Linked DNA regions of Homo sapiens: region 1 is linked to region 2. Evidence: promoter capture Hi-C in 16 types of primary human blood cells and fetal thymus (Javierre and others, 2016). All regions are on one chromosome and are shown on one strand. The core of a region is centred on a gene start or on the middle of the fragment in contact, and the rest is flanking DNA. Distances in the headings are between cores, read along the strand shown. Region 1 holds the start of NT5DC4 (5'-nucleotidase domain containing 4). Region 2 holds the start of TTL (tubulin tyrosine ligase).

Region 1 (2,726 bases), core at 181-2,680, 240 kb before region 2:
CCTGGAGGCCTGTCCAGGCTCTGGCCATCCCTTCCAACCACCACGCATCCCTTCTGTGCTGAGCCTCCACCGTGGGCCTGCGTCCTTCCTCCCTCCCTCCCTCTGTCCTCCCCCAAGGTGAGCAGTCCTCCCCTCCTGGCCTGCCACTCTCCCGGCACCTTTGTCCCTTACTCCGAGAGGAAGGTGAAGCCATAGGCACCCAGCAGCACATTCCCGTGGGCGTCCACCTTCAGCAGGTTCCCATAGAGTTCATCGAACACCAGCCGCCTGCAGACGGGGGGTCGGGGGGCACTGTGGGTGGGGGTACCAAGGCCGGGTGGCCTCCCACCTGTCCTGAGCCACACACCTGGTGGGGAAGGTGGGGTCGTAGGTGTAGCGCAGGATCTCATGCGGGTACCCAATGCACACCAGGCGCTCCAGCAGCAGCTCGAAGGTCAGGGCCTCATAAGCTGGGGACTTGTAGGCTGCAGAGGCCCGGACAGAATCAGGGCTTTGGTGCCCAGCTGCCCACCCCTGCTCCCTCCAGCTCCCAATACGCTGTGTTCCAGCCCTCTCTACCAGCCAGAGTGTAGTCCATGTCGAAGCCAAAGCAACGAATCTTCCCCAGCGCCAGGCTGCGGTTGACAAAAATCCTGGGGAGAGAGAGGAGGATGTTGGCATCAGTCCACCAGCCCCCCAGAATCCAAGGCCCAAGGACAGAGGGGGTGGAAACCCCGCAGAGGAGGGCAGAGCACCCCCTGCAGCTGCAGAAAGCACAGGGGAAGCAGGTCAGGCCAAGCCAGGGCCCTGCCTGGACCCATGTGTGTCTGAAGGCAAGTGTGAGTGTGCATGTAAGCATGTGTGAGCATGTGTGCAAGCGTGCATCTGAGTGTGTGCGGGCAATCAGCCGCTTGCTGTCCCACCATGCAGGCATGTTATAGGCATCCAACCCTGTAAGAAAGTAGGTGCAGTTGTTGGTGTGAGGGTTGTCACCTTCTGAAATGGGACCCCAGTGTCCAAATTCAGAGATGATGTGTTTGTCACAATTGGATAGCACATGTCACTGTGTCCGTGGTGAAGGGGAGAGATCTTCGTGGAGGGAAGGAAGTGAAGAGGACCTCCCGCCGGAGTGTGTGTGGTCAGTTCCCTGATGGGTTGTTACAGCTATGGAAGTGCGTCCCTTGTGAGTGCAAGTGTACGTCTGCATTTTGGGAGTCCCCATAGCTGTGTATTTAAAGGAGCCCCTGTGTGCTGCTGTGGCGTGTGGGGTGTTTATGGGCTGAGACCCCTGGCCCCCACCCCAGGTGCCCATCTCACCGCTGGTGCCAGTCCTGCTTCGGGCCTTGAGGGGAGACCAGTCCCTCCGGCTCTCTCCAGTCTACACTGGCCATCGTCACCCAGAGTGAGGAGGAGGCAAGTGTCCCTTCCTCAGCCTCCTGCACACTATCAGTGGGGCCCAGCCACTCTCCTCTCCCTCAGAAGCTTCAGGCACCACTGACCCAGCTGGCCCCACCCTGTGCTCCCATCTCCCCCGAGCCCCTTTGAGGGAGGAGTCAGCCAGGACAGGCTCTGGTATCCCATCCTTTTCTCTAGAGCAAAAGCAGCAAGGATCTAGGAAGAGCAATTCATGTCCACTGCACCCTCCTCATTCCTAGGGCTTATGCATCCATGGACCTCAGCGGCCTGGAGAGTAGCGGAGAACCCAGAATGAGGCAAATGACGGGATACAAAGTCAGGAGGCTCCGTACTGTACTCATGATAAAAGAAATAACTCAGTACTCTTGCTTTATGCACAATTCTGACACATTTGGTTATCAAATTTCCCAGCTCAAGGCCATTTAGAGAAGACATTGCTAGAAGCATGCCAAGGGCTATAAGAATTGGGAAGATAACTGGGATCTCAGAATGGGGGGGTGGCAGAAAGTACAAAAGGAAGTGTCAAAAAGCAGAACCACTGGGGCCATTTAGTGTAGAGTTCTAAATACTCCCTGAGGGCCCATACCACTGGCTCCACAACCAAGCATGTGACTTCCATTTGGAGCGGTGACCTGGATCATCCAGAAAGACTTAACTGAAGTGCCAGGCCCTCTTTTAAAAAGAAAGACAAGGCTGGGCACAGTGGCTCACGCCTGTAATCCCAGCACTTTGGGAGGCCAAGGTGGGTGGATACGTGGTCAGGAGATCAAGACCAGCCTGGCCAAGATGGTGAAACCCTGTCTCTACTAAAAATACGAAGAAAAAAAAAATTGCCCTCTTGGGAGCCTGAGGCAGGAGAAAAAAAAAATTAGCCTCTTGGCAGCTTCTCGGGAGGCTGAGGCAGGAGAATTGCTTGAACCCAGGGGTTGGAGGTTGCAATGAGCCGAGATTGCTGCACTCCAGGCTGGGCAACAGAGTGAGATCCTGTCAATAAAAAGGGAAAGAAAAAGGAAGAAAGAAGGAAGGAAGGAAGGAAGGAAGGGAAAAGAAAAGAAAAGAAAAGAAAAAGAAAGAAAGAAAGAAAGAAAGAAAGAAAGAAAGAAAGAAAGAAAGAAAGAAAGAAAGAAAGAGAAAGAAAGAAAGAAAGAAAAAGAAAGAAAGAAAGGAAAGAAAGAAAGAGAAAGAAAGGAGGGAGGGAGGGAGGGAGGGAGGGAAGGAAGGAAGGAAGGGAAAGGAAAGGAAATGAAGAAAAGGAAAGGAAGAAAGAAAAGGGCCTGGCGCAGTGGCTCACACCTGTAATCCCAGCACTTTGGGAGGCCAAGGCGGGCAGA
Region 2 (2,930 bases), core at 238-2,737:
TCAATTCCAAATGGCCCGTATTCAGTTTTTACCCATTTGAATTCTGACCACACCTATTTCTAAAAACTGTTTTCTCTCCTGGACATAGAACATTGCTCTCTCTGGGTTGCCCTCCAAGGTAGAGGTGACTCTTCCTCCGTATCGATTCTCCCCTTGTCTTTGGAATACAATTGGCCCCCACCTCTGGTGAATTCTGGCAAGGAACATGGCTCCCCGGAGAGAAGATGCAATTCCCAGATGACTGTGCAGAGAGGGAGGCCATGAGACTATGCTCAGGTCAATAGGATGTGAGTTGAACCGATCTGGGCAACTTCTGGATGACATCACTTACAAAGGAGCCGCTAGTCCCCTCCTATCTCCTGCGCTTTCCTACCCGTGGACATGTGGGTATGGTGGTGCCCAGCCAGCTTCAACCATGTGGATGAAGGTAATTCCCTCGGGGAGAGCAGGGAAGACAGGGAGGGCGAACGCAGCCTCGTGTAAGATCTTAATCCAATGCAGAACTGCGAAAACACATTATTTGGTGAAACTAAGGAAAGGTTTATAATCAGACATCCCTCCACACTTCCCTGGGCTAGGGTCTCTTCTGCAGCTCCTGCTTTTGGAATCCGGGGGTCTTTTCCAAATCCTCTGATCGCTCCTCCGCGCCTTCGGGGGGCAGAAGCCTCAGGGGTTTCAACACCTACGGCTCCCCCGCCCGCGCCCACGCCAAGCAGGGAGAAATCCTCAGTGCAGACGAGCTGCAAAAGATGACTCCAGCCGCCCGCTCTGCGGAGCCGCGCCCAGCGCGGCGGACCCGCCAAATCTGGGGGCTTCGGCCCGGGGGAGCCGCTAGACTCGCGCCTCAGGTCCCAGCCCCGGCGGCCAGCGTCTCCCGGGCTGCAGGGACCGGTCACCGTCGGGAGGTAGCTGCGGCCCCGAGTGGCCGCACCGCGACTCCGACTCTAAATCCAAGTTAGGAGACAAGAAAGCATTAAAAACGACAGGTTTCGATCTTTCCGAATCCGTTTCTGATGTGCCCGACAAGCGACAGAGGAGAAAATGTATGACCTTTAAAAACAAAAGCGCCGGTTCTAACGGGCCGCGGGAGGCGCGCAGGGCCGCTCCGAGGAGGGCAGACGGGAATCGGGGAGGGGCTCACCCAGTCTCCCGAAGGGCAGCCGATTCCTCTCTCCCAGCATCAGGTTGAATCTGGGGTTGTCTCGCCGCAGCCTCTTCCAGTGGCCGGTGGCGAGGAGCAGCCGGGAGACCTCGGCGTAGACGCTGCTGTTCTCATCGCGTACCACGAAGGTGTACATGGCGAAGCGCCGCGCGCCCGGGCCGCCGGGCAGCCGCCGCAGGGACCAGGCGGCCGAGAAGGCGGCTCAGCGCGGACCCCGCCCGGGCGCCCGCCGCGGCCCGGCCCCCGCCGCCCGCGCCGGCTACCGCGCCTCTCGGGTGCCGGCGGCGCCGCGCCCGGGCGCCCGCCGGGTGCCGGAGAGGAAAGCGCCGCTCGCACGCCCGCCCCCGCCGGCGCGGCCCCGCCTCTGTCCCGTGATTCCGCGCGGCCCGGCCCCGCCGCGCTCTGGAGGAGCCCGTGGGCGGCGGCGCCGCGCCCTTTCCGTACCCTCCCCCGGGGGCGGCGGCGGCGCAGGGTTGGAGACCCGCGGCGGTGGGCGCGGCTTTACCGCAGCGGGCGGACTGTGCGGTGGAACCGGAGCCCGGGCCTGGGGTGGTTCTTTCCGAGCCCCGGGTCGCAGCCGGGGGGCGGTGCCGGCGGAAGATCCCAGTTTGCAGGGCTCGATCTGGGTTTTTCTTCTATTGCCAAAGGACCTTTAATGGATAAAACCCAAAAGTTCTAAGGCCCGGTCCTGTGGCCTAATGAAGAAGCGCTTCCTCTTCCTCTTTGCTTAACGACTACGGAGACCCGGAGCGTCGGTTTTGTTTGTGTCGAGTGCTCCTTCCTTCGGCTGAGCCCAGGGTGGCGCACGGCCAAGGGGATGACCTTAGACTCTGCTGGTGGAAGCAGGTCCCAAACCGACCCCCTGGAGCCCTGGGCTCCGCTCTTTTCCTGCCTTTTACCGGCATTCAGCCACTTGCTTTCCCTTCTCCGGACCTCGATTTCCCCTTATGAGCGGCGGAGAGTGGCTCTTAAAAGTCCCTTCGGTTCTGATAGCCCACTCTGAAGACTGTGCTGCTGCATTTGAGATACAAAGAGAAGGCAATGATCATCAGAGCTCCCCCAAACTTCCTACAGTCCCTCATAAATTACCCACATCAGCCCTGCGCCTTGCATCTTTTACTCTCCTGTAGATAAAGAACACCCTGGGGCCTCTCCCCTTCCTGTCCCCCGATGCTCACGGTATCTACCCGAGCACATTGTAAAAGCGCCCTTCTCCTTCCCATCGTTGCCCAGATTCCACGGGGCCGCCAGGCGCTCACTCGCCTGTCTTGCGCACCGGCTCCACCTGCAGGCAACCGCTGGCTGTGGAGAGCCCGCTCAGAGCAGAAATGGGGCAGACTTAGAGGTGCTGGGTGCTTGCACTCCTTCCCAGCTGCTCTCCCTCCACGAGGGATAGAGTTGGTCGAGAATGCCCTGGCCCTCTCGCCCTCCGCACGTGCCCTGCGGGGAGGCGTGTGTCCTAGGCGTATTGCGGTGGTCCTCTGTAGGCCACGGCTGCGGTTGTCCACAGCTGCAACTTGCTCATCAGGGCATCTTCTGTTGGCTTCCTTCCTTTCCCTGACTACCGATGTTTCCTGGGATCACCTCCCAAAAAAACTACTGTACTCGTGCTCAAATTCTTGTTCCAGGGGGCACCGTTTGGGGGAACTCGAGCCAAGACGCTGTGTTTGCCGCTCTTCACGGCTGATCACCTTGAAAGTGACGTCCACTCCCACCATGCTGCATCAATTCCTCCTGCGACTCCTACTGACGACTCCTGTGCCACAGG

The links. The method cuts DNA at HindIII sites, captures the fragments that hold promoters and counts their contacts. A CHiCAGO score of 5 or more calls a contact.
Region 1: a contact is called between the fragment with the promoter of NT5DC4 here and the fragment with the promoter of TTL in region 2, in 4 of 17 cell types (erythroblasts, M0 macrophages, endothelial precursors and 1 more). The highest score is 6.7, in erythroblasts.

The regions. Positions count from the first base shown.
Region 1 is chr2:112,719,724-112,722,449 of GRCh38, reverse strand. It overlaps NT5DC4 (5'-nucleotidase domain containing 4), which reads right to left and starts at 1,430. Exons shown (of 17, transcript NM_001393655.1): 1 at 1,297-1,430; 2 at 559-632; 3 at 347-464; 4 at 172-267. The coding sequence starts at 1,370. The HindIII fragment of the contact is 3,072 bases long and covers 1-1,463 here.
Region 2 is chr2:112,480,713-112,483,642 of GRCh38, reverse strand. TTL (tubulin tyrosine ligase) reads right to left here and starts at 1,487. Exons shown (of 7, transcript NM_153712.5): 1 at 1,142-1,487. The coding sequence starts at 1,298. RefSeq lists silencers at 717-816, 1,377-1,766 and an enhancer at 2,087-2,156. The HindIII fragment of the contact is 5,056 bases long and covers 1-2,930 here.